6 separate regions of the Homo sapiens genome follow, and regions 1, 2, 3, 5 and 6 are each linked to region 4. Evidence: promoter capture Hi-C in 16 types of primary human blood cells and fetal thymus (Javierre and others, 2016). All regions are on one chromosome and are shown on one strand. The core of a region is centred on a gene start or on the middle of the fragment in contact, and the rest is flanking DNA. Distances in the headings are between cores, read along the strand shown.

Region 1 (4,487 bases), core at 1,277-3,776, 1.0 Mb after region 4:
TATTATATTTACATTCCTTTTCATACACTTAAAAGAGAGCTGTAACAATTTCAAAACGTGAATATTTATAATATGACAGAAATTTAATCCTTTAAAGTCAAGATAAAAATTTTAGATGTCAATACAAAAAATGTGTGAAAAGATATATATGTGTGTATGTGTATATATATATTATATATATATTATTTATATATGCTTTTAGGGAGTATCTGGGCAAAACGTTTTAGGAACACAGGAAGAGGAGGTAGATGTCTAGTTTAGAGACTCACACTATAAAATATGGTGCCCTGACAATTTCTGGAATTTTTGTCTCTTTTTTACAGCCCTCAAAGTTCAGAGAGTCTCAGGATGTAGGTCAATTTAGGACTAAAAGAGAATTCTAGATATCTTGAAGGATTGGTACCTAAGATTACGGTACCTAAGATTACGGTTATATGGCTACCTTATGCAGTTAAAACTCTTATGTTTGGCCGGGCGGGGTGGTTCACGCTTGTAATCTCAGCACTTTGGGAGGCCCAGAGGGGCGAATCACGAGGTCAGGAGTTAAAGACCAGCCTGGCCAACATGGTGAAACCCATCTCTACTAAAAATACAAAAATTAGCTGGGCATGGTGGCGCGTGCCTGTAATCCCAGCTACTCGGGAGGGTGAGGCAGGAGAATTGCTTGAACCTGGGAGGCGGAGGTTGCAGTGAGCCGAGATCCCGTCACTGCACTCTAGCCTGGGCTACAGAGGGAGACTACGTCTCAAAAACAAACAAACAAAACAAACAAACAAAAAACTCTTACATTTACTGTTTTGAAAACCTATTGGGAACATCAGTTTGACAAGAAATATCTTTAAAATTCTGAACAAGAGACTTAAAAATGAACTTTGAACATACGACAGTTTAAAGCACATTTATATGCAGAGAAAGACTTAAAAATACAATTTCTGCCAAGTGAAATATTAAACAGCATGTTTCATTATATTTGCTATAGATGCCAAAAGAGTTGCCATTTTCAATGAGGTATGTTTCCTGCTTATGTAACAGTCATTTATCATAGAAGCTGTAAAATGCAATCTGGAATTTCTCTTGCCAAATTGCTGCCTGTTCTTGACATTTTATATTATTAAAGCTATAAAATCTATAAATACTTTTAGCACACTTTCACTAAAAGCAGCACTAGTAAGTAGCAGGCCTTGTCTTGTATTTCAGTAGCCACGTCAAAACTTCTGAGCCAGGCGAAATAGAAAGAGGGGTCCTAGGGTATTTTATGCCCAGGGCAACAAACGCCAAATGCTGACGTAGATAGCACTTATTCGGTTTTGCCAGGAGCTGTGCTAAGTGATTTTCATAAAATATGTAATTTAACCTACAGGCAACTCCATGTGGTATTATTTTCACTTTTTTACATAGAAGGAAATGGAAGCTTAGAAAACTGAAGCAATTTACCGAAAGTCAGAGTTAACAGAGCAAGGAAACCTGAACAGTGTGCAGCCTCCGCTCACCAGAAAGTGTCAAAGAATCACATTTACTAGTACTTCAGACAGAAATTCTGCGAAACAAGGCGTATCTACTCTTGTTTTACTCCCAGACACTTCCCTGTCCCGCTTAGATCAGTGGTGGTTTTCACTCAAATTTAAGTGTGTAACAGTGTCCCCGGGAGGGCTCTGTTCAAACAGATTGTTGTACGCGCCCCCTACCCCTGCCCACCCCGAGTGTTTGATTCAGTAGGTCTAGTTTGGGATCGAGAATCTTTTTATTTTGTTTTCCTTTTGTTTTGTTTTGTTTTGTTTTTGAGACAGGGTCTCGCCCTGTCGCCCAGGCTGGAGTGCAGTCGTGCCATCTCGGCTCACTGTAGCCTCTGCCTCCCCGGCTAAAGTGATCCTCCAGCCTCAGCCTCCGGAGCAGCTGGGGCCACAGGCAAGCGCCACCACTGTAGGCTAATTTTTTTTTTTTTTTTTTTTTTTTTTTTGTAGAGACTGGGGTCTCACTATGTTGCCCACGCTGGTCTCAAACTCCTGGGCTCAAGCGATCCTCCCGCTTCAGCCTCCCAAGGTGCTGGGATTACAGGTGGAGCCACCGCGCCCGGCATCGATAATCTGAATCTCTAACGAGCTCCCGGGCGACGTTGATGCAGCTGGTACCGGGACCACTCTTCGAAAATCATCGGTTTAGAGGTTTTAATTCTGAATCCATTGCGAAAACTGTTGGGCGGACAGAGCACTACTAACTCCTAACTTTTCTCAGAAAGCTGGGCTCTGCTTTCGCCAGCAACCCGGTCCGAAGTCGCGGGCATATTCTGTCTGAAATCGTGTGCACCGAAATCCCCGCCTTGCGGTGGAGGCTGGCGCTAGGCGGCCTCAGCCTCGGCCTGCTGCGCTCAGGAACCCGCGCCCCGGCTCCTCGGCGATCCATTGCTCTTTCCTCTGGCGCCGGCCGCAGGCCTCGGTCACGCCCCCAGCGGCCCGTTGGTTTCCGGGTCCCGCGGGGTGCCCCCGCCCACACGCTATGCCTTAAATTGGGCCAGGCTGAGGCGCTGCTGCTGGAGCGGCCGATCCGAGACGTGGCTCCCTGGGCGGCAGAACCATGTTGGACTTCGCGATCTTCGCCGTTACCTTCTTGCTGGCGTTGGTGGGAGCCGTGCTCTACCTCTATCCGGTGAGCGCCGTCTTGGCTCTCTGGGGCCCCGGGCGCCGCCCCAGTCTCTCTGTCGCCGGCATCCAGGCCAACCTGCCCGCTGCGGGCCGCAGGGGGCGGGCCTGAGAGGAGGGTTCGGGTTCGCTCCAGAGCTTCAGCGCGGGGACCGCACCCGGAGTCACGTGACGCCCCTCCCGGCAAGCTCTGAGAGCGACGTGGGCTGCGTCGCTACCCCTCAGGCGCCGGGCCAGGCGGGCGTAGAGCTGCTGAGGAAAAGCCCGCGCCCCCGCAGGCCGGTCTCACCTTGCCAGGCACCCCGCGCCACTCTCCAAGGCGGCTCTCAAGTACTTTGGGCAGCTTTTTGGCCATAACTCGCCAAACCCAAATTTCATTTCCCAGTGTGTCAGGACGAGACTCCTGGGCGCGCCACTCCTTTCTCCTTTCTTGAGGATTCTCCCAGCACTTGTGTATTCCTCTTTTCCATCTGTCCATCGATCTATCCTGACTGGAATCCAAAGTGCTCGAGGTCCAGGTCTTGCTCCTCTTAGGGGCTCCAGGCAAATGCTTCTTTGGGGAGAGCGCCGCGCTGCGGGTTCGGGTGCGAGGTTTCCTCTGCCGCTGACGCCTCTGCGAGCCTCCGGTCCTCCTCTCTCCACTTGCCTCCGTCAGCGAGAGAGGGAGGGTCTGAAAACAAAAGTGTTGATGACTGAGGACCGTCTTTAAAACCTGTTCTACACACTTTGGGAGGCTGAGGCGGGCGGATCACGAGGTCAGGATATCGAGACCATCCTGGCCAACATGGTGACACACCGTCTCTACTAAAAATACAAACATTAGCTGGCTGTGGTGGCGGGCGCCTGTAATCCCAGCTACTCAGGAGGCTGAGGCAGGAGAATCGCTTGAACCTGGGAGGCGGAGCTTGCAGTGAGCCAAGATCGCACCACTGCACTGCAGCCTGGCGACAGAGCCAGACTCTTATCTCAAAACAAACAAACAAACAAACAAAAAACACCTGTTCTACAAAGCAAGGTGGTGGTTTTACAGTGAAAGTTGAAAAGTAGCTGAACTGCTGGAATTGACCATACACCTTCTTAAATGTTCTTTTCCGAGCAGGTAAATGGATTAGACTAGAATCTTGCAACTACACAATCAGGGACTTCCTGAAATCTTATTTTCTGAGAAACTAAACAATTTTAGTGGTTCTTGAATTTTTGGTGATTTTAAAATGATACTCTTCTTTGATCAGCTCATAGAAGCACACTGTTTATTCTTAGCACTAGCTATGTGCCAGATATGGTTCCACGTGCTGGGAATCCAGCCGTGAAACAAACCGGACAGAAAATTCCTGACTCTTGGAATTTATTTCCTAGAGAAGGGGAACAGACAATAGAAACAAATAACATAGGATTGTGGGTAGAAATAAAGTTGGGGATAGGTAGATTGTTATTTTAAAGTAGGATGGCCAGGAGATACGGAGACATTTGAGTAGAAACGCGAAGAAGGTGAAGGTGCAAGCCATTCTGAGAAAGAGCATTCTGGGTCGAGGGAGCAGCAAATGCAAACCTTCAGAGGGAGACACGCCTGGTGTGTTCCTGGAAAGCAAGGGGACCAGTGTGGTTAGAGTGTAGTAAATGAGGAAGATACCAGAGGAGAGAAAGTCAGAAAGATGGGAGTGAAGGACAAATTTTAAATGACTTGTAAGGCTTTTTTAATGGACTTTTGCTGTGTGCCACTGGAGGATTTCAGCAGATGAATGCCATTTGAAATTGGATAGAATTCAAATTTAATTTTATTAGATAAATTTTAAAAGAATCATTGTGGTTGCTAAGTCATGAATTGACATGGGTCTCCAGGTAAGGATGGAA
Region 2 (4,875 bases), core at 2,109-4,608, 1.1 Mb before region 4:
CTGGGGGTCCTGTTGTGGGCCCTGATTTAGAAGGGCCTTGCTCCGGCTCTTCTTGGGCTGTGCCCTTCCCTCAGGTGAGGAGAATCATCAGAGGTGGGAGGAGTCTGCAAGGTCAAGAGGACATGCCCACACCGAGACCCTCTGTTTAAAACCCTCTTTGGGGCTGGGTGTGGTGGCTCTCGCCTGTAATTCCAGCACTTTGGGAGGCCAAGGTGGGCAGATCACTTGAGGCCAGGAGTTCAAGACCAGCCTGGCCAACGTAGTGAAACCCTGTCTCCACTAAAAATACAAAAATCAGCCGGATATGGTGGTGCGCGCATATAATCCCAGCTATTTGAGAGGCCGAGGCAAGGGAATTGCTTGGGCCTGGGAGGCAGAGGTTGCAGTGAGCCAGGATTGTGCCACTACACTCCAGCCTGGGTGACAGAGTGAGACTACGTCTCAAAAAAACAAAAAGAATAAACCCTCTTTGGGTACCTAAGACCTGAAGTTCTCTACGCAAAGAGCCCTGAGCCTCCCACCAGGGCCTACATTGGCCTCTTCCCCAAGTCCATACCCCAGGGACAAACTATGCTGCAAGTATGCACATCCCTAAGCCCAAGGGGTGGCTGATTTTAAGAGGATGTAAATGGAAAGTGGACTGCAGGTGGGAGTGTCAACATAGGTGTATACAGTCATTCTTTGAGGGCTGCTGAAGCCAAAGGATAAGGATGGCACAGGGGTAGGGGGTTAAATGCCTGCCCCTACTGGTTTGCCAAATGGGATGACAACATGGGCTTCCAATGTGAGCCAGAAAAAGCCCTCAGGGAACGACATATGGATATGCTGGGTTAGAAGTCATACTGGTGTGTGTTGAAGTGGTAAGAATCAGTGGGCATGCAAGGTGGGCCTGGGGTAAGTCCACTATGATGGTTCTACTGACAACCAGAAATGGCTTTCACTTGGGATAGGGTGGGTTGGAGGTGGTGATGGAGGTGCTAAGCTAGGTGTTCTTGAATAGTAGTTTCCAAATTAAGGACAGGTGCTGATCTGTAATAAAATTTTCTTGGTGTACTAAAAAGATAAGAAAGGCCAAGAGCAGCAGTGGTCATGCCTGTAATCCCAGTGCTTTGGAAGACCTAGGCAGGAAGATCACTTGAGGCAAGTTCAAAACCAGCCTGGGCAACATAGCAAGACTCCCTGCCACCCACGACCCCCGCTTCTACTAGATATATATATATATATATATATATATATATATATTTTTTTTTTTTTTTTTTTTTTTTTTTTTTTTGAGATGGAGTCTTACTCTGTCTCCCAGGCTAGAGTGCACTGGCATAATCTAGGCTCACTGCAACCTCCGCCTCCCGGGTTCAAGCAATTCTCTGCCTTAGCCTCCTGAGTAGCTGGGATTACAGGCGCCCGCCATCACACCCAGTTAATTTTTTGTATTTTTAGTAGAGATGGGGTTTCACTATCTGGGCCAGGCTGGTCTTGAACTCCTGACCTCGTGATCCACCCGCCTCAGCCTCCCAAAGTGCTGGGATTACAGGCATAAGCCATTGCGCCGGGCCACAAATTTTTTTTTAAAGAATTAGCTGGGCATGGTGGCACCTGTAGTGGCACACCTAGCATGGTGGCATGCTAGGACCTGTAGTCCTAGCTACTCAGGAGGCTGAGGCAGAAGGATCACTTGAACCTGGGAGGTTAAGGCTGCAGTGAGCTGTGATCGGGTCACTGCACTCCAGCCTGGAGTGAGACCCTGTCTCAAAAACAAACAAAAAACCAAACTTGGATAACTGACAGAGTTTAGGATAGAATTACATGGAAAAACCAACAAAACAAGACAATTATTAACTCCAGAAAAAACTAAAAGTTGTGTGGGAAAGGAAAAGTAATCATAGTTTGGTACATAACTTGGCTGTGACTACCGTTTACATGATTATAATAGCATATATACTGAAGATTAATCAAACAGAATATAACTATCTTGGGAAGATGGAGAGATTAAAAAAAAAGGTTGGGGGTGAATATGGGGTGAAAGTGATGGAGAAAAAGAGCTGAAGTCTCCTCTGGTGTCTCAGCACTCCACCCAAGGTAGAGCCTCTGGATGGAAGAAGGAATCTCCCACCTCTCCACCACACTCCCCCAGGATTTACCTTCAGCATCAGGTAGCTAGGGGCAAGATGAGAAATGCTGATATGCTGGTCTCTGACTGGGAGCTGTGGGAAGAGAGAGGTTCTGAGTTGCAGCAGTCTGGAGTGGAGTCTCTTGCTGAACAAAGGGAGAGGTTTGGTTTAAATACCACAGACTGACTCTCACATTCTGATCCAAGAGTTTTCATAGATTTTTTGGAACAGATGTTTCTTCATTTGCTGTTTGCCCTTAGGACCATTTCAAAGGCTTTAAATGGTTAATGGTTGTTTGTTGTTTTAAATAATTTTCAGTTTCACTAGGGGTGAATCCCGAGCTCTTCATGCCGTCCTGCTGTTAGTCTCTCTTGGTATTATTCTTCACCTTTCCTGTGAGTTTAAAATTATCTCAAGAAAAGTTAAAGCTCTTTAAGAATCACAATAAAGTAGTTATTAGGAATAAATAAAAACGTAGAGGGGCGCGGTGGCTCACGCCTGTGATCCCAGCACTTTGGGAGGCCGAGGCGGGCAAGGATCACTTGAGGCCAGCAGTTGGAGACCAGCCTTGCCAACATGGTGAAACCCCATCTCTACTAAAAATACAAAAAAAAAAAAAAATTAGTCGGGCATGGTGGCTTGCACCTGTGGTCCCCGCTACTTGGGAGGCTGAGGGCTGGATGGTTTGAGAGCGGGAAATCCAGGCTGCAGTGAGCTGTGATGGCGCCACTGCCTTCTAGCCTGGGCGACAGCGCGAGACCCTGTCTCAAGAAGGAAAACAAAAAAAAACAAACAAAAACATACACACAAAAAACCACAAAGTGTGTTCACGTTTGCTATGACTCCCAGACAACAATTGTAAACACTCGCGCCGGGCGTGGTGGCTCACGCCTGTAATCCCAGCACTTTGGGAGGCCGAGGCGGGCGGATCACGAGGTCAAGAGTTCGAGACCATTCTGGCCAACAGTGAAACCCCGTCTCTACTAAACACAAAAATTAGGCGGGCGTGCTGGCGCGTGCCTGTAGTCCCAGCTACTCGGGAGGCTGAGGCAAGAGAATCGCTTGAACTAGGAAGGCGGAGGTTGCAGTGAGCTGAAATTGCGCCACTGCACTCCAGCCTGGGCCACAGAGCGAGACTCTGTCTCAAAAAAGAAGGAAAGAAAGAAAGAAAAAAAAAAACACTCGCAGTGTTTACTCCTAACGCGTGGAACTTGTGTCGACATCCACCCCCGGTTACTGCATACTCAGTCACACAAGCCATAGCAGGAAACAGCGAGCTTGCAGCCTCACCGACGAGTCTCAACTAAAAGGGACTCCCGGAGCTAGGGGTGGGGACTCGGCCTCACACAGTGAGTGCCGGCTATTGGACTTTTGTCCAGTGACAGCTGAGACAACAAGGACCACGGGAGGAGGTGTAGGAGAGAAGCGCCGCGAACAGCGATCGCCCAGCACCAAGTCCGCTTCCAGGCTTTCGGTTTCTTTGCCTCCATCTTGGGTGCGCCTTCCCGGCGTCTAGGGGAGCGAAGGCTGAGGTGGCAGCGGCAGGAGAGTCCGGCCGCGACAGGACGGTACGTGCCCCGCGCTCGACCCCCGCGCTGGCGGCGCCGGAGCTGTCCCAGACCCCAAGCCCCGACGCCCGGCCCTGAGTCAGCATTGCAGCAGGCCCTGCGCCGCCGCGCCCCGCGTCCCACCCCGCGCCGCTCCTCACAGCCCTGCGCTCCGGGAAACTGCAGGTGGCCGGCAGTGGCCAGGGGATGGCGGGGGCGCTTCTGGAACCTGACTCAGTTTTGTAGGTTCCTTATCTCGGTTGTTTACCGCGGGCTTTGCGGAATGCCCCCGCTTCCGTTTCCGCCCGGCTCCGAACCCCCGAACCCCTTCTACCCGCAACTCCGCCCCGGATTCCCAGAAAGGGGCGACCTGGGCCACAGCGGTACAAGCTGCACCCCGATGGACCTGAGAGACCGGAAGTAACCCTTGGCCAACTCTGGCCGCCCCCTGCAGCCGCAGCCCCAGAGGCCCACCCGCGAGCTTCAGTGGCGGGCCCTCAGCGTCGTGTAAACTTTGCTTAAAATGATCTTGAGAGTTCAATTCTTGGGGTGAACTGTTGAGAAGATCTGGCATTTTTCCTTTCGAAAGTTGTTGGGAACGTGGACTTTCCCAACAATTGTGTATGCGCTCGATCTCACTCAGTGGGAGCCGCCGCCCTGGAGGGAATTTCACAATAGCCTGGTCAGGGCGGTTATTTTCCAGAGCAGTTTAATGTCTATTTTGCCCAAGTGCAAGGAAAGCTTGCCTTGGGAAAGCTGGGAATGCTTGGCTAATGAAAAGTTTTTAGAGCCTTTTAAAATGAACCTGTTTCTGCCACTTTTCCACCGCCTCAAAACGACTGGGAAATGTAAACTGGCTTCAAGATGTTCTTGCTTGAGGGTGTCTGGATTTGGACAGAAGGCCATGTTCTTTTAATATTAACAGTGGCACGCAGTAGAACAAAGGCCACTGAAATTCAGAATCAGTTTTTGGCTCCACGGGCAGGAAGTAAATTCAAGGACGCCAGAGGTCTTGCGAATATTTTAATTGGTTGACATTTGAAATTTGTTCTTAAGCAATGAGGGGTGAAACCAGTAGGGGGATAGCGTATAGCATAAGTAAAGCTTTTTGGACATCAACAAACTGCGATAATCTACAACAGACAGCGGGCTCTGGAAGGTTTGACCTGCTTTAGAGAGAGATTTCCGATAAGAGGAACGGAGTTTTTGGCACTTTTCGG
Region 3 (4,431 bases), core at 674-3,173, 1.4 Mb before region 4:
GGACCTCTTCCACTTACTAGCGCTATGATCTTAGACAAGTTACCTGACCTCGATGCCTCGGCTTTTCCATCTGTAAAATGGGACTAATAATAGTGTCTAGATTACAGGGTAGTTTTCAGGATGAAATGGGGTTACTACATAAAGTGCATAGAAGAGGGCCTGATACATATAGGGACATATTAGTTATCATTTTTATTTGTGAAACGTTGTCCTTTAACAGAACTTCAGATGTGAAAAATACAGTTCTGGGGGAAGAGCAATTGACAGCACTGACAGTGTTAAATTAGCCATGAAGTGAAGATGCCAGATAGTGTGGACTGGGGCCTTGGGAGAAAGGAAGGGGCTAGACACTTAGAGATCAGACTCCAGCCACTTCCCTCTGCTCCCCACAGCCCTCCCAATCACACTAGCTTCTTGCAGTTCCTCCAACAGATGCAGTTTGTTTCCTGCCTCCTTCCCACTGCTGTTGCCTCAACTTGGAAGGGCATAGAGCCTGGATTTAACAAATATTTGCTTAATGATTCAGTAGATGATCTTGGAACTCTTTTAAGTGGAGTAAATGTTAAATCCTTGAGAATGTATGAGACTGCCATAGAAGAAAGTATCCAGAAAGAAAAGGTATCAGTACAGAAAAGAAGAGTCAGAAAATACCGTGCAAAGGCACATTCAGAACGTAACCAGGATAGCTGGAGCCAGGATTCAAGGAGAGAGGTAGGTAACATTCAATGCTCAGAGGAGGCAAACAGGGTGAAGAATAAAACACTGGGTTTGGCAATAATTTCAGGAACGAACGCTGAGAAAGTCATTTTTCCATGAAGTTGCGGGGGGGTGGGGTAGAGGTCAGATAGTTAATTAGGGAAAAGAAGTCAACAAACTATTTTATCAAAAGGTTTAGGGAAGAGAAGCCACTCTCCTCCTACCAGAGAGTGAGGAAGCAACTGGAGAGAAGTAAACTACTGTACAGTGAATAAAAACATGGGGCTACATCCTAGAGGCGCTGTGCATCTTTATCTGCACAGAGTTTTGTCACGTCCACAGTGCTTTTCACACGCACTATCTAATCTGATCGTACCCCAGCTCCCTGATGATATAGCCTCTAACTGAGGGGTTCTCAAGGTGCGGACCAGCAGCAGCATCACAGATAACTTGTTGGAAATGCACATTCATGGGTTCCACACCAGGCCTACAGAATGAGAAACTACGGGTGGGGCCCAGCAGTCTGTTATAACAAGTCCTCCAAGGGATTCTGATGCTCTCCAAGTCCCCATAGCCACCACACTCGGGAGACAACCGCTGCAGCGCGCAGGGACCGCGGTTGGAGGACAGAATTTCCCCTTCTCAATCTTCGGCCTGTGTCCTCTTCGCTCTTAAGGGAGGTAGTGAACAATGAGACAGCCCCTCAGAGAAAAGTCGCCAGGCAGGGGACTCAGCTGGAGCGAACTCCGCCCATCCCGGCCAGGGCGGAGGCGAGGTGCGGATTCCTTCCCCAAACCACGCCCCCATGCCCGCCCCCAGCCTCCGCCCCCGCACGACCCGAGGGCCCCCCGCCCTCGGGCTTCGACTTCCGGTGCTGGAGGAGGGGGCCGGCGGCGAGGGACTCCAGGAGGACGCGTCCAACTTCGAGACCGGCGGGGGCCGGCTCCGCTCTTCCAACCCCTCCATGTGTGAAGAGGGCGGACGACGCAGCGGGGGAAGAAAAATAAGCTAGTCTAGGACAAGTGTCCAGGCGACGTGGAACCCAGTAAGGGAATAAAGAAGACTGGAAACGTCTCTCCCCTCCCCTATCCCAGTCCCTCACCCTAATCCGCGCGCAATAGAAAAGGCGGAAGCGCCTGTCCACGATCAGGGCGGGGCAAGGGGAAGAAATCTCGCGATAGGAGAGCGGTCCGGGCGGGGGTGGCACCTCTCCCTCCTCCTGGCGTTAGTTCCGGTCGCAGAGGAGACACCGCCGCAGTTGCCGGTACATCGGGGATTTCTGGCTCTTTCCTCTTCGCCTTAAATTCGGTGAGACGCGGCGCCCCGCTCACCCCGGGCGGACGCTGCGGGTCGTGGACGCCGGGCAGAGGGAGAGGGAGGCGGCGGGCTGGATGCGGCCCGGCTTGGATGGGCCCGAACGGAGGTCGCCTCTTGAGGCCGGGCCGGATCTAGGGCCTGAAAGGCCGCCGCTTCGGCAGGGAGGCCGAGGGGTAGCGGCGGCCCGGGTGGGGAGGTGGGGTCCGGGTGTGCGCCGCGGCGCTGGCTGCGAAGGCAGTGGCCGAGGCGGGCTCCCTCTGGGCCGTGCCCGGCCTGGCTAACAAAGCCGCCGCGGCCTCTGTTGTGTGATGTACGCGTGGGGGCTTCCGGCGGGCGGGGCGGAGGGGCTGCCACCCACCACCGCTGCGGCCGCCGCCTCCGCCGCTGCTTTCGCTGGAGGGCGGGCGGATGTACGGGGCGCCTGGGGCCCCGGCGCAAAGCGCCTCAGTGACTGTGGTCCGCTCGTTGCGGCGGCCGCCACCGCAGGCGACAGGGTCAGTGGAGAAAGAGCCGCGGGACCCTACGGCGCCCCGCTGTGGCCGATGGGGTCCTGGGCGGGAAGCGGGTGATCTGTGGCTCGGGCGGGAGGCATGGGAAGGGTGTGGATTGGGAGACACGTTACCGGGGAGGAGGCTAGGACTGTGGGATATGGGCGAAGGAGGCTGGGCTGGCTGTTAGTTTTGCAGGCCTGAGTGGTGCAAGGCGGCCGCTGTTGCGGTCACAGGCATGACCTAGGGTAGGATGGTGCTGCCCGTAACCAGGCTTGTCAGAAGAAGGGGTTCACCTTTTGACAGTGTTTTAGAATTGGCATACACATTTTGGATGCCTGCTGACTATGGTGATAATCTCTCTTTGCGTTCTGCGATGCTTAGTGGTCGTGGAAGATGTAAGTGAATGTAAAGAGGAATGTGGAGAAAACTGAACAATTAGGTTTATGACGGGTGATCACTGTAGCACTACAATGTCGCTTAAAAGTAGTTCACAGCACTAATTTGAAGGGTTTCTTGTAGAGAGAAATGCACATTTTGACGTACATTTGATTCAAGTGCAGGTAATTCTTTGTGCCTGTATCGGGTATAATTGCCAGCTTTATATCCTGAGAGTGGGTGTTCCATTTGATTCATATGTGACTAGACTAAGGTTTGATGTTTTGCTTTAAAAATTAGTATTATGGCACTGATATTAAGGCTTTATTTCTCCTTTCCTAGGGTGTCTTTTATGAATAATCAAAAGCAGCAAAAGCCAACGCTATCAGGCCAGCGTTTTAAAACTAGAAAAAGAGGTAAATATTTACGTTTTAATGTCTCTCTTCAAACCTCCAGAACATCTTGTGTATCTTGCCTTCTCTGACAGGTACTTGCATATTACTAAAGCCTCAAAAGAAGATACCAGAAAGAAACTTGAATTTCTCGTTGACTGCCATTTCACATACACCTTTAATATTTCTACTGCTTTACTGCTCAAGCCTTAATTTTTAGTATCAATATATCTCTAAGCCGGTTAGTGAATCTTCTTTTCGGTGTGAAGGTAAAATATTTTTAAAAATAAAAATAAGGGCTCTGTTTTCACTAGCAGGCAGTCTCATTTAAGCAAACTTAAATGAGCAAAAATGTTAATTTATAAAAGGAGAACTCCTAATGTAGTCACCCAGATTTTGTGAAGATTTGTGAGAGAAAACTCAGACTTCACCCATGGAAGTTAATTGTGGAACAGGATTCACATTGTAATGTCTTTTGAAATACAGACTTAGTAGAAAAAGTATTAGAATTATATTACTATTTTTTTTTTGCATTAGTGTGTACTTAGGTGAGTATTGAATTCTGTAGCAAAGTGCTGTGCTAGTGATATAAAGCTAAATAAGACGTAGTCTCAGATATATTTTTACTGTTTTTGGTCAAAAGCATATTAACCTTGTTTTACAGGTGGTTTTGAGGAAATGAAGAACTAGGTCAGCTACTGGTTATAAGTTGTGTTTTTCTTTTTCTTCCTTAAGTAGCAGACATTTTGAGATATATATTGTAGAATTTTAAAATCACTAATCATAGGCTGTCTGTCCCCTTGTAGTAGTGGTGGGGAGACCAAAGTGTGATTTGATTCTAATCTTTGCAGATTCATTTAGATTTAGCTGGTAAATTTTCTTAAGGAGCTGGAGTTGTAAACTAGAACAGTTTGGCAGTAAAATGGGAAAGTGTATCTCTTGAATATGTGGGTTACTGATGTTACCTTGATACAAATAATAGCAAGTAGCTTTAGCATTCTTATTATTAGCATCAGGGAGAGATGTAACTTCCCCGGTTCCAGATAGAGATGATTCGTGGCCTGGCTGTTGATGGTTAGGGTACTGGGTAGGGTATACAACACTCCCTGTCTGGGACTGAGGGAGTTTCCAGACACAAGACTTTCAGTGCTAAAACCAGG
Region 4 (4,163 bases), core at 151-2,650:
TACTCAGCCATTAAGAAGTGTTTCACTCAAATTCCAAAAACAATCATTTTTTCATTAATCAATGGAGGACCCAGCAATTGAAGTCTTGTGTGTATTTAATGTCCACCGATTTTAACCTTGTTATTACTCAATTTCACTATTTTAACACCAGACAATAACCTTCTGAGAGCTGCCTCAGAAAACACATCACTCTAAAATAACTTGATTCAAATTAAGGTTGTCTTCTTAGGACAGTGGTTTAGTCTCATGCTGATATTAAACAGTACAGGATTTGGAGATTCTTGTTCTCACTTATAAACCTCTTAAGATTAAGGGTTCAGCTTTATAACTCTTTTAAGTCTTTAGCACTCAACACTGAACTTGTACTGGGTCTTCTTTGTTTTGAGTCAGGGTCTCTATCGCCCAGGCTGAAGTACAGTGGCATGATCTTGGCTTGCTGCAACCTCGACCTCGCAGGCTCAGGTGATCCTCCCATATCAACCTCCTGAGTAGCTGGGACTACAGGTACAGGCCATCATGCCTGGCTAATTTTATTTTTTGTAGAGACGACGTCTCTCTATATTGCCCAGGCTGGTCTCAAACTGGGCTCAAGCAATCCTCCCCCACTTAGGCCTCCCAAAGTGCCAGGATTACAGGTGTGAGGCGCTGCACCCGGCCAATGTACTGAGTCTTTTTTTTTTTTTTAAACGGAGTCTCACTCTGTCGCCCAGGCTGGAGTGCAGTGGAGTGATCTCCAGTTACTGCAACCTCCGCCTCCCGGGTTTAAGCAGTTCTCCTGCCTCAGCCTTCTGAGTAGCTGGGATTACAGGTGCGCACCACCACGCCTGGCTATTTTTTGTATTTTTAGTAGAGACGGGGTTTCACCATGTTAGTCAGGCTGGTCTAGAACTCCTGACCTCGTGATCCACCCAACTTGACCTCCCAAAGTGCTGGGATTACAGGCTTAAGCCACTGCACCCGGCGAGTCCTAATGATGTTGGTCAATCAGCCTACAGCAACAGTTCTCAAACTTTTTGTTCTCAGGAATCTTACACTTAAATTTATTTAGAATCCCATAAAGCTTTTGTTAGGTTGGTTACATCTATTGATGTTTACAGTATTAAACACTGAAAACTGAGAAATGTCTTAAATATTAATTCATTTTAAAATACCAACAAACCTGTTATATGTTAACAAATATATATTTTTATTAAAAATATTTTTCAAAACAAAATTAATGAAAGAGTGGGACTGTTACACATTTTTGCAAATCTCTTTAATGTCTGGCTTAATAAAAACAGCTAAACAGCTGGATTTTCACATCTGCTTCCACATTTAATTTGTTTTATCACAAGTCATGTTAGTTTCTAGAAACGTCCATTGAACACTCATGAAAGAATGACAGTGAAAAAGACAAATAATGTCCTAGTATGAACATGAAATAAAAGAATCTATTTGTATCCTAGGTCCTTCATTTCTTTATGTATCTCTTAAATAACCTGACTTCAAAATGGAGCAATAAATTCTACATTTTATAATTATTTCTTTATGTTGCTCTTCCATCAGTCTACAATAAATTTCAAAATGCTTCCTAGACGCTTCTGGGAAACAAAATAAAAGGCTGACGAAACTAAGCATTTACGCCTATACTTTTCTTCCTAGTAACCAAGTAAACAACTACCTAGGGAAACACAATGCCCACTTGGGAATTAATCTAGATTATTAGTAAGTAGATCCATCCAAAATTCATCTAGATTATGGTTAAGCTTTAAAATGTTAAGTGTACATTTTGTACAATAGTACCAATCTGCAAAAACCTCACTTGCTCTCACGAAATGGTACAAAACTGGGTTAAAAGCCAAGGGAATAGGTGTGTTAAATTTAAAAGTTCAAGTACATCGTGGAGTTGAATGAAAAATAGTTTTCTGAATAACTACCATTAAATGAGTAAAAGTCCAAAAATAATGTAAAAAGTCAAAGTCGGCTGGGCGCGGTGGCTCACGCCCGTAATCCCAGCACTTTGGGAGGCCGAGGTGGGCGGATCACGAGGTAAGGAGATCGAGACCAGCCTGGCCAATATGGTGAAACCCCGTCTCTACTAAAAATACAAAAATTAGCTAGGTGTGGTGGTGAGTGCCTGGTGGTGAGTGCCTGTAATCCCAGCTACTCGGGAGGCTGAGGCCCGAAAATTGCTTGAACCCAGGAGGCGGGAGGGTGCAGTGAGTGGAGATCGCACCACTGCACTCCAGCCTGGCGACACAGCGAGACTCCGTCTCAAAAAAAAAAAAAAGTCAAAGTCGTCTGAGCAAACAAAAGACCAGACAAAAACTTTATGAATTAAAAACTAGCCATAAAGTTGTTTAATTAGAACAGGATGAGGAAGAAAAGGGGAAATCGATCACTCCTGATTAAGTGCAAATCCCAAGTAAATTATTGATACTAACAGTGAGCTGGAGCACTTTGCCTTACCAGGCAACTTTCTGCAAATATTCTGCAACGACTCTACATACACAAAGTTTTCCTATGCTTTTCCTCAAAAATATGAGACTTCCTCAGGTTAATGCCCAGGTGAGATGCTTTTTGTTGCTCTAGCAGTTTAGTTCTATTTTCTTTCTTGGTTATTATGAATGCTCTCTTACAACTGGAGAGCTAGGATGAACCAATCCCGAGTAAGAAACGGGAAAGTACAGTAAAGAGGCGACAGCTCTGCACCCCCACACGGAAAAAGACTCAGAGGAGAGCAGCGGCATCCTTGCCCTAGCTCCAATCCGAACGGAGGCAGGATTCCCAACAACATCGGACGTCTCCCTCCCTCGCCGCCCCACGCCCTCCCGACGAAGAAGCAAAAAGTGGAGAGTCCAGCCGCTTCTCAGGGCCACGGAGCCTCCCAGTCAGGGATTCTCTCCCGTTACATAACTAAGGCCTAGGGCCCTGCTTCTGCGATTAGTCCTCTGGAAGGAGACGGACGGGTTCTCCAGAGACCCTCCCAGGGAGGTGGAAGCGGGGCTCTGCACCTAGTCGACCCGGGAGAAAGAAGTGGGACGACATGAGGGAGGCCGCCACCAAAGGCGGTGGGGTACGGGGGTGATGAGCGAGCCCGGAGAGGGGCGGGCGGCTCCGGGAGCCCCGCAGCAGGCCCCGGCACCTCCGGCCGTAGTCGGCTCCTCTCCCTCGCCTGCCTAGTCCCCACCGGCCGCCCCCTCCCCCATTCCGCGCTCCCCTCCCCCGCGCCTCCATCCCCGACCCCAGCCTAGCGGCAGGCAGACCTGCAGGGAAGGCCCTGGCCACCGCCGTTGGATGGCTCCCAGCCCGGTACCTGGTCAGACATGATGACGGTGGCTTCACCCGGGGGTCTCCGCACAGCAGCGGCCTCGGGTAAGCAGAACCTCGCTCCGGGGTTTACAAATCCTTCTCCCTTCCCCACAGCACAACACCGCGGCTGCAGTAACTTCCGCTACGCCTCGCGTCACTTCCGCTTCGCGCAGGGAGGAGGGAGAGAGAGAAGAGAGGAAAGACAAGGCGGGAAATGGGTGGGGGAGCAGCCAAGGGGAGGGGCAGGCTGTGGAGCTGCTTTGCCGGTGGTCGCGCGGGTGAACGGCAGTTTTGTCAGCTCCTTCAAGGACCAGGTCCTGCGCATCAGTACTAGGGCCATCCCCCAGGAGCAAAGGTCCTGGCTCCATGTCTCAATGTTTGGAGCCACTCTCACAACCTAGATTGCTCTCTCCGTTACACCTTGCGCGTCTCTGACGACTGAGCCGAGATACTTCTTTTGTCTCCTCCCAGCCTTGCTCATCAACCCCCAACCCCCAAATATGTTTATTTGAATGCCAGTACTTCTAGCTCTAGAACCAACATTTTCGGTTAACCAGCACCCTTGCCAAACACATGACCGTGATTTAAAACAACAAGAAAGCAACGACCCAACACAATCTTGACGGCTACTGATGCTAAAGACCGCTGCTGAAAGTTCTAAATGGGGAGTGAGTAATTCCAACCCTTGAATTGGTTGCTTTGAGTTAAGGTTAAAGAATGATTCTTCTTGGCAGGGCGCTGTGGCTCACGCCTATAATCCCAGCACTTTGGGAGGCCGAGGCGGGCGGATCACCTGAGATCAGGAGTTCGAGACCAGCCTGGCCAACACGGTGAAACCACGTCTCTACTAAAAATAACAAAAATTAGCCGGG
Region 5 (4,338 bases), core at 1,798-4,297, 1.3 Mb before region 4:
GTAAATATTTTGATGGAAAGAATTATTTTAACTTTGAATTTTTTATCAAGAAAAATAAAAACAATTGTTATGTATTATTGATGTACATGGCAATTCACCAACATCCTTATTTATAGAAAAATGATGAGAAAATGATTTTTCAAAACATAATTTCCACCATTTTCCTTAGGTAATTTAATTCTGAGAAATAGGGTTAAAAAATAATTCCTTTCTCGACTAACAAAAATATAACAAGTGTCAGTGTTTCTAAATCTTAAATGTGCAGAGATAACCACAGTGCTTTCTTGCTTGCTTTTTGTTTTTGTTGTACCTGTTTTTCTGTAACCTGTATACCCCTTGATATGATACTGTATTCCAGAGAGGGAGAAAACAATTTGGAGGGTTCCTTTTTCATTTCTCCTTTTTTTTTTTTTTGAGGTGGAGTCTTGCTCTGTCGCCCACACTGGAGTGCAGTGGCGTGATCTCGGCTCACTACAATCTCCACCTCCTGCGTTCAAGCAATTCTCCTGCCTCAGCCTCCCAAGTAGCTGGGATTACTGGGATATGCCACAACACCCAGATAATTTTTGTATTTTTAGTAGAGACAGGGTTTCACCATGTTGGCCAGGCTGGTCTCGAACTCCTGACCTCAAGTGATTGGCCCACCTCTGCCTCCCAAAGTGCCGAGATTACAGGCGTGAGCCACCGCGCCTGGCCTAGCAGTTAGAGAGTATGAGCAGGTTAAAGATGTGTGTGGGAGAAGCAGGGCACTATTCTCATTGCCTTTTTCTACTTCAGGTTCTAGTTGCCCACTTTATTTAATTGTTTTTTTAAAAGTAGAGACGGGGGCCTCACTGTGTTGCCCAAGCTGGTGTTGAACTCCTGGGATCAAGCAGTCCTCTCACCTCCGCCTCCCAAAGTGCTGGGATCACAGGTGTCAGCCACTGTGCCCAGCCTAGTTGCCCACTTTAGATCTAGAGCAAAATAATCCAATTAAAATTGTCAGACCTGTCTATTCTCTTCTGCTCCTTCAACTCTCCCTTTCCATTTCTATCTATCTTGTAATCAATCTTTCTCCATAAAAGGTAAATTCTGGCTGGGCGAGTTGGCTCACGCCTGTAATTCCAACACTTTGGGAGGTCAAGGCAGGCAGATCACCTGAGGTCAGGAGTTCGAGACCAGTCTGCCCAAAATGGCGAAACCCCATCTCTACTAAAAATACAAAAAATTAGCTGGGCGTGGTGGCAGGCGCGTGTAATCTCAGCTACCGGGGAGGCTAAGGCAGGAGAATCGCTTGAACCCAGGGGCAGAGGCTGCAGTGAGCCGAGATTACACCACTGCACTCCAGCCTGGGAGACAAGAGTGAAACTCAAAAAAAAAAAAAAAAAAAAAGGTAAATTCTGTGCATTTTAAGTGACAACATTAAAGAATTTTAAAGCAATTTTGTGTATTTTTTAAAAGAATTATTCCATATTAAGTGCTTCTATATTATACAATTTCTCCATCTTGCCACTGCAATTTCCATGAACTTTTATTGCCCTTGACTGAATTTCTAAAAATTACTTATAATGAAAGACATTAGATAAAAATTGCTCAAAACTTACCATTTTTCCTCTTAGTGGTTTCAGGAAGGACTACGTGATTTCTCAGTCTTACAGCGAGCTCAAAAATAAGTCTCTAGTCCCAAAAGAAAAAAAGAATTAGGCTCATTTTCCTGTCTTAACTCACACACGCTCATCTTTACTGAACATTTTAAATAAAAACCTCGCCGGGCGTGGTGGCTCACGCCTATAATCCTAACACTTTGGGAGGCCGAGGCGGGTGGATCACTTGAGGTCAGGAGTTCGAGACCAGCCTGGCCAACATGGCGAAACCCCGTCTCTACTAAAAACACAAAAATTAGCCGGGTGTGGTGGCAGGCGCCTGTAGTCCTAGCTACTCAGCAGGCTGCGGCAGGAGAATCACTTGAACCCAGGAGGCGGAGGCTGCAGTGAGCTGAGATCGCGCCACTGCACTCCAGCCTGGGTGACAGCGCGAGACTCCGTCAAAAAAAAAAAAAAAAAAAATCCTCTAATGGCATCCCCTAGGTAATAAAAACCCGGCTATAGAAGATATCCTACCCGATTCAAGCCTCCCAATCTCCTACTTGCCCGGCTTGCTCTTCTTCAAGAGCCTCCTTGCAAGTCCCCCAATAACCCAGATACCTTCCCTTAGGGTCCAGGCATTGGGTGTCCCTTTTGCCTGGAATTCTTATACTCAGACATCTCTACGGCTAATTTCCTCACCTCCAAATTTCTGCTTAAATGTCAAGTTTAACTGACCTGACAATCCTACACAGAACTGCTTTAGCCCTTCAGCCCTAGGACATTCCTATTTCCTTCTCCCACAGCACTTATCACTAATATACTATGAAATTCGCTTTTTTTTTTTTTCACCACAGCACTTATACTAATATACTATGAACTTTTTTTTTTCCACCACAGCACTTATCACTAATATACTATGAACTTCTCTTTTTTTTTCATTTTGAGACGGAGTCTCGCTATGTCGCCAGGCTGGAGTGCAGTGCGGCAGGATCTCGGCTCACTGCAACCTCCGCCTCCGCCTCCCGGGTTCAAGTGATTGTCGTGTCTCAGCCTCCCGAGTAGGTGGGACTACAGGCGCGCGCTACCATGCACGACTAATTTTTGTATTTTTAGTAGAGACGGGGTTTCGCCGTGTTGGCCAGGCTGGTCTCGAACTCCTGACTTCAGGTGATCCGCCCGCCTCGGCCTCCCGAAGTGCTGGGAGGCCGCCGTGCAGGGTCCTTCTTTTACTCTGACGTTGCAACAACAGCCTCGCCGCCCACTGTTCACTCGCAGTATCCCAAGAACTAAACCAGTAGCAACACAGAACTCAGCAAGCATTCGAATAAGTGAATGAAAGAATTAATGACGTTACTCCATACTTGGGCTTCACCACTTCGTCTAGCACAGCCGTTGTTAAAACAGGAAAAATGCAATCGCAGATGCCAGCAGAGGTCTGTTGGTTCAAAATTATAGTTTCTTTGGGCCAGCGGAAGTTGGGCGCGGGACCCAAGAGAGAGAACGCCCCTTACCGCCTCACCTCCTTCCTCCCCTCATCTTCCTATCTCAAACCAAAACGACAATGCAATTTATCCCCAACCGGAAATTTGACAGTGAAAGGGAGCTCTACTAATAATTGCACTGGGACAAGAAGTGTAAGGCGAAACTACCTGGGCAACCTCAAGCAATGCTTTACACTCGGCTGCCAAACGGAAAGGACCACTTCCGCCCAGCTCTCCCGCTACGGGGAGCCAAGTGCCACAGCATCCGGAGCGCCGACGCGGGACCGGAAGTGACGCAGAGAAGTTTCCGGGACTGGTGAGTAGTGGGCGATTTAAAAACCCGCGAGTGTAGTTGTGACCTTCGCGGTAGGTGCCGGTTGGGGCCGGCTGTGATTGTTATCTTGGTGCTGCAGAGGACAGCAGAAGAGGAGATTGGGTCAGAAAACTGCCCTGCCGCACCAGAGCACAGCGCACTAGTGGGACAGGGGTCCTGACTCAGACTTAACTGGCTGTGTCTCGTGGTTTTTCACTGTCCTGGAAAAGGCCTGAAGTGGCACTGAAATGAGGCATAGATGAGGTAACGTCGAGGGAGCGGTTTGCAGGTTGCAAAGGGGCCCTACTGATGCTGCTTAATAGTAAACAGTGCTTACTCTAGGACGGGAGTTGTTTCCAGCTTTACGTGTAAATCTCGCGATATTGTGGCCTGGGCACTATTTCCATTAAGGAGGAAACTGCACAGGATAAGTCATTTACCTGCTGTTGCACAGCTCTGGCTCTAGGATTCAGGCTGGCTTCAGAGTCGGTGCTCTTAACCGCCATACTATGTTGCCTTCTGTTGTCGTTGTTGACTGTGGCCATGTAGCTTCGCAGTTTCCTCATCTGTAACAGTAAATAACTCAAAACCTGCATGATGGCCCACTAGGGTTTCACTTTCGAGCTTGCCAGATGTAGAAAATGCTGGAGAATGGAGTACTATGAGGACCATTAGAAGATCTTTCAAGGCCGGACGCAGTGGCTCACCCCTGTAATCCCGGTACTCTTGGAGGCCGAGGCAGGTGGATCACTTGAGCGCAGGAGTTTGAGACCAGCCTGGGCAACATGGCGAATCCCCATCTCTACTAAAAATACAAAAATTAGCCAGGTGTGGTGTTTAGCGCCTGTAGTCCCAGCTGCTCAGGAGGCTGAGGTGGGAGGATCTGCTTGAGCTCAGGAAGTCGAGGCTGCAGTGAGCTGAGATCACGCCACTGCACTCCAGCCTAGGCGCCTAGTGAAACCCTGTGTCAAAAAGAAAA
Region 6 (4,788 bases), core at 1,879-4,378, 1.3 Mb before region 4:
AGGTTTTTTAAGGGGCTGTTTGTGAGGCACTGTATTAGGCACATTTATGTACACCAGCTCATTAAATCCTCAGATTCTCTGACTTAGGTATTTTGCATCTCTCTCTTTATATATATAATGTCCCCAACTTACAAATGAGTAAACTGAGGTCAACTCATTAAATATTAATAACTCATTGAATTATTAATGCAAATACACACAATTATAAATCTATTAGGGTTGAAATTCACTTCGGACTGATCCTAACTTCTTCTTTTTTTTTTCTAAGATGGAGTCTGGCTGTGTCCCAGGCTGGAGTGCAGAGGCTCAGTTTCAGCTCACTGCAACCTCCGCCTCCTGGGTTCAAGAGATCCTCCTGCCTCAGCCTCCCGAGTAGCTGGGACTACAGGTGTGCACCACCACACCCAGCTAATTTTTGCATTTTTAGTAGAGATGGGGTTTCACCATGTCGGCCAGGATGGTGTCGATCTCTTGAACTCGTGATTGGCCCACCTCAGCCTCCCAAAGTGTTGGGATTACAGGTGTAAGCCACTGCACCTGGCAGATTCCTAACTTCCTGACCACTCTATTACACCACATACCTCTCCTGCCATCAAATAAAAATGTTATCATAAATGCTTGGTTTTTTTGTTGTTTTGGGTTTTTTGTTTTTGTGGGGTTTGTTTTTTGAAACAGGGTCATTCAGCTCTGTCACCCAGGCTGGAGTGCAGTGGTGCGATCTCAGCTCACTGCAACATCTCACCTCAGCCTCCTGAACAGGTGGGACTACAGGCGTGCAATGCCAAGCCTTGCTAATTTTTGTATTTTTTTGTAGAGACGGGGTTTCCCCATGTTGCCCAGGCTGGCCTGAGCTCAAGCAATCTGCCCACCTCAGCCTCCCCAAGTGCTGGGACTGCAGGTGTGAACCACTGTGCTGGACGCTAAATGCTTGTTTTGACCTCTGAAAACCATTCATAATAGGTCTAATTATTTCTCTACATGTCAATTAGGGTTAGGGTATTCTATAGCAGGTAACTATAGAATGTCCAAACTGGAAAGTTTCTCTAACTTTCCAGTTCATTGGGTGAAACATCACTAGTTCTATCAAGCATACTTCAAAGAGCATGGCCAGAGTCAGCATAATCTACATTATTTTACTTAATTATACACTGCTGTGTACTACAAAGGATTTGAAGCAGTGACAATGAGCAAATGCAATAAAACAAATTATAATTTATAAATGCTAATAGGGAGTCTGCATCAGAAAAAATATAAAGGAAAGCAGAAAATAAAATCACACAATGAATTTTTGGCTCTGAGCTTCCTGGCAATCAAAGCAAAAAGCAAGTAAAGGTCGGTTACGTAATTCTTATTGGCAAAAGTTTAGTTGTTCTTGGGGATGTGGGGACAAGATTTTCTAGGAAAATTTAAAAACAAATATTCTAGGCAACTGAGTATTGTCCTAGGCAATTTCCCTATGGTATTCTACACAAGAATTGCCTGGAGAGAGGCAGCCTGAGACTTGTTTGTAGCCAAGTGCATTTATACAAACATTTCCTTTTCTAATTTTGGAGCATCTTATTAAATAGTACAAAATCACCAAATTAAAGAAAATGTCTACAAAGACCTCATGAGAAACGTTTCCTTCTTTGCTTTCCAACAGTTCCTGAAAAACAAACGAACAAAAAAACCTAACAATCACACAATAAAATGCAATATTTAGTGACCATTATGACCCCTCAAGGCACTGCCTTGGTGCTTATAGGCCAACCCCTTTCAAGGAGTTACTTCAAGGCAATTCTGCAGCACCAAGTGTTAGCATTGCACCAAGTGGTAGCAACACACTCTCCTTTGAAAACAAATAAAAGATTTGCTGTAATTTTTAAAAACATAATCCTTTGAAAAAGAAGGTTGGATAGATTAGTGGTTAAACACCAATTTTAATATTGGAGAAACCTGAGTTCCAATCTCCACTCCATACTTTATAACTGTGTGACTTTGTCCAAAGTCCTGACGATTAAATGAAATGATGTGCCTGATATATAAAAGAGCATCACTGAATGCTCCCAATTATCGGTATTTTTACTTTAACCTTTTTCTTTTTTAGCTCCTTACTGCAGTGCACTGAGATATTTTTACTTTAAACTTCAACTTAACCATGCAGATCTCTTGTACATCTCTAACTCATTCAACATCTAACAGAAAAACTGCTCAATAAGTGATGATGTCCGTTTAACGTGCAGTGCCCTTATATAACGGTGTAGGGCCGTGCTATTTTTCTTCAGATTGCAATTTAACTGCGGGAAAGTGTAATGATTCTATTAGGATTTCAATTGTAAAATGAAAAGTAACGTCTCAACATCTTTTTAATTAAAAAGCTCTACCAAAAGAGCCTGGCTTATCAACATTTTACAGCCAAGCATGGCTCCAAGGTGACCGATCAGTTAGCTGGCAGGACACATTGGTGCCTCCAGGCTGGGATGACATCAAAGGTTCTAGCTACAGTGGTTCTGGGACGCGATCTCTTCCTCTTCATACCTCACAGGGCACTTTACCACTGTCGTTACACATCTTCACAGTTCTCCTTTTCCAACCAGAGGGCTTCGTAAGCTGGGAATCAGGTAGGTTAGTATCAGGCGTCCCTTGCACAAAAGGCCTATAACTGCGGGGCAGACTAACGAAAGGTCCTCCCAGAGTGAGCCTCTCACCTCAAGTCTTAAAGGACTTTGGCCTGCGCCTCCAGCCTCTGGCCAGTTGGCTGCGCTCCACCAGTAAGGGTTCTCGAGCCCCCGGGCAGCCTGCGGGGGGCAGCGAGGCGCAAAGACCATGCCCCAAGTGCCGAGGGAAAGTCCTGAGATGCGCGACTTGGGACGCTAGGGGCCAAGCTCCGACGCGGGGCTGGGTGCACCTGGACGCACCTCACACGCCGCGAGCTAAGCAGAAAAGGGAGGCAGGCTGCCCCGACACCCCACTACTCACCGCTAGGTTTCCGTCTGGCGCCGATCCGGCTGCGTCACGCCGGCCGAACGACACCCCGCTGAGTCGCCGCCGCAGGGAAGGTACCTTCGGCCCCAACGGGAAAAGCCAATTTCCAGTAATTCGCGCCCGACCACCGGGGAGGTAAGGAGCACCGGAGGCCAGCTGGGGGATGGGAAGCCTGCGTGCGGCACACCGAATCTCCCGCCCTGTTCAGGGGGCGGTGCCCGAGGAAGCCAATAGGAAGAGGAGTCGGCCAAGAGCGACGGCTCTGCCGTCCAGTCGGCGCCGGCCATTCGGCCCCGCCCATCAGGAAACCTGAGGAAAACGGATTCTTGGGCCCTGAGTTGTGGGCCTTACCTTTCCTTTCTTCTTTCCGTTTCCGGGGAAGGGAAAAGGAAGTGTTGTTTGGATCTGAGGAAGTTTGCACAGTAGCTGGCTGAGTGGTAGCTGTTTGTCTTGTAGCAATCTTTAAAAAGTGTTCTTTGGGGTCGGGCGCAGTGTCTCACGCCTCTAATCCCAGCACCTTGGGAGGCCGAGGCGGGCGAATCACCTGAGGTCGGGAGCTCGAGACCAGTCTGACCGACATGGAGAAACCCCGTCTCTCCTAAAAATACAAAATTAGCCGGGCGTGGTGGCGCATGCCTGTAATACTAGCTACTCGGGAGGCTGAGGCAGGAGAAACGCTTGAACCCGGGAGGCGGACGTTGCAGTGAGCCGAGATCGAGCCATTGCATTCCAGCCTGGGCAACAAGAGCGAAACTCCGTCTCAAAAAAAAAAAAAAAAAAAAAAAAAAGTGTTCATTGGTTTCCCAGCTACCTTTTGAAGAAAAAGGTAATGGAAATTGATTCGCATTTCTTTTTTAAAGATTTTCTTCATTTGGCGTGAAAGGTAGGATCTTGTACATCTCCAGGGTTTGGGGTAGGGAGAAGAAGAGACGTTAGGAGAAGCACTGAATATGGAGATGGGATCGGACGGCTAGTGGGATGAAGAGGCTGGGGAAATAGAATGAATAGACAGAGAAAATGATTGACTTCAACTATCCAAAATATAAAAAAGACAAGACAGAGAAAATGAGGAAGAAAAGGAATGAACCTGGATGGGATCCATACAGTATTAAGAACAGGGTATTGTTTCATTTGGATTCACTTACTCAAAACAAAACTACAGAGTACTCTGCGAACAGAAGATAAGTATTCATTATCGAGCGAGACAACTACGATCTCTGCATTCACTGTAGTTACCTAGCACGTGAAGATATTGAACGGACAATATTGAGAAAAATACCATGATATGGGAAGTGCATTGGAGCACATGGTAGGAGTAGCTAATTAAAAGCCCAGAAGGAGTCAGGAACAATTTTCTAGGAGGAAGAGATGTTTAAACTGAAACCCCTGTGTTGAATAGATTTAAAACAGGCCAAGAGGGGTAAAATTTTCCAGGTAGAAGGTCCAAATCCGTGTAACAGCTGTGTAAAATGCCAAGCATTGGGTCTGTTATTATGAAGGGCTTAGTTGGCCCTTAGGGCACTGGTCAGATTTGTATTGAAAGATCTTTGGATAAAGGAGGTAGGATTGGGAGGGAAGATATAGAGTCACAAGATTTGGGAGCTGTTTAGGAAATCCAGTTGAGAAAGAAATGATCATAGCCTTGATACCTCATTATTCCATTTTGGCTAGGTGGAGTTAAGAAAATGGAAGAGAAAGGCAATTTTTTGTGCATTATAAATAAGAATTTGGGGAGTGACTAGAGACAGAAGATAAAGAGAACATAGCTCAACAGTTAACAATGATGTGTTTGAAGAGTGTTTAAAAATGTGAAGATGACTAGCC

What was found. Contacts are between HindIII fragments. The CHiCAGO score rates a contact against its expected background, and 5 or more counts as called.
Region 1: a contact is called between the fragment with the promoter of CYP20A1 here and a fragment that was not itself captured in region 4, in 2 of 17 cell types (total B cells and naive B cells). The highest score is 7.3, in total B cells.
Region 2: a contact is called between the fragment with the promoter of CFLAR here and a fragment that was not itself captured in region 4, in 1 of 17 cell types (fetal thymus). The highest score is 6.2, in fetal thymus.
Region 3: the fragment with the promoter of BZW1 here is called in contact with a fragment that was not itself captured in region 4 in 2 of 17 cell types (total CD4 T cells and fetal thymus); the score reaches 6.1 in total CD4 T cells.
Region 5: the fragment with the promoter of PPIL3 here is called in contact with a fragment that was not itself captured in region 4 in 3 of 17 cell types (fetal thymus, naive CD8 T cells and total CD4 T cells); the score reaches 6.5 in fetal thymus.
Region 6: the fragment with the promoter of ORC2 here is called in contact with a fragment that was not itself captured in region 4 in 4 of 17 cell types (fetal thymus, total B cells, monocytes and 1 more); the score reaches 8.4 in fetal thymus.

What each region holds. Positions count from the first base shown.
Region 1 is chr2:203,236,492-203,240,978 of GRCh38, forward strand. CYP20A1 (cytochrome P450 family 20 subfamily A member 1) reads left to right here and starts at 2,527. Exons shown (of 13, transcript NM_177538.3): 1 at 2,527-2,643. The coding sequence starts at 2,572. RefSeq lists enhancers at 2,228-2,277, 2,563-3,134, 2,958-3,247 and a silencer at 2,348-2,557. The HindIII fragment of the contact is 4,599 bases long and covers 1,410-4,487 here.
Region 2 is chr2:201,112,806-201,117,680 of GRCh38, forward strand. It overlaps CFLAR (CASP8 and FADD like apoptosis regulator), which reads left to right and starts at 3,359. Exons shown (of 10, transcript NM_003879.7): 1 at 3,359-3,676. It overlaps LOC105373836 (a long non-coding RNA gene), which reads right to left and starts at 3,879. Exons shown (of 3, transcript XR_923785.3): 1 at 2,139-3,879. RefSeq lists an enhancer at 3,345-3,604 and a silencer at 3,635-3,844. The HindIII fragment of the contact is 6,122 bases long and covers 1-4,394 here.
Region 3 is chr2:200,809,987-200,814,417 of GRCh38, forward strand. BZW1 (basic leucine zipper and W2 domains 1) reads left to right here and starts at 1,924. Exons shown (of 12, transcript NM_001207067.2): 1 at 1,924-2,004; 2 at 3,222-3,295. The coding sequence starts at 3,232. BZW1-AS1 (BZW1 antisense RNA 1) reads right to left here and starts at 2,184. Exons shown (of 4, transcript NR_110275.1): 1 at 1,799-2,184. RefSeq lists enhancers at 1,138-1,397, 2,246-2,761, 2,762-3,277 and silencers at 1,448-1,597, 2,128-2,497. The HindIII fragment of the contact is 7,792 bases long and covers 1-4,431 here.
Region 4 is chr2:202,235,145-202,239,307 of GRCh38, forward strand. It overlaps SUMO1 (small ubiquitin like modifier 1), which reads right to left and starts at 3,453. Exons shown (of 5, transcript NM_003352.8): 1 at 3,296-3,453. The coding sequence starts at 3,307. RefSeq lists a silencer at 2,918-3,107. The HindIII fragment of the contact is 685 bases long and covers 1,059-1,743 here.
Region 5 is chr2:200,886,030-200,890,367 of GRCh38, forward strand. It overlaps PPIL3 (peptidylprolyl isomerase like 3), which reads right to left and starts at 3,048. Exons shown (of 7, transcript NM_130906.3): 1 at 2,927-3,048; 2 at 1,584-1,656. The coding sequence starts at 1,586. It overlaps NIF3L1 (NGG1 interacting factor 3 like 1), which reads left to right and starts at 3,342. Exons shown (of 7, transcript NM_001369441.2): 1 at 3,342-3,623. RefSeq lists enhancers at 2,128-2,872, 2,566-2,615, 2,684-3,883, 2,736-2,985, 2,873-3,617 and 1 more. The HindIII fragment of the contact is 11,124 bases long and covers 1-4,338 here.
Region 6 is chr2:200,960,532-200,965,319 of GRCh38, forward strand. ORC2 (origin recognition complex subunit 2) reads right to left here and starts at 3,129. Exons shown (of 18, transcript NM_006190.5): 1 at 2,959-3,129. It overlaps LOC105373835 (a long non-coding RNA gene), which reads left to right and starts at 2,901. Exons shown (of 3, transcript NR_187976.1): 1 at 2,901-3,099. RefSeq lists an enhancer at 2,362-2,431 and a silencer at 3,140-3,538. The HindIII fragment of the contact is 10,169 bases long and covers 1-4,788 here.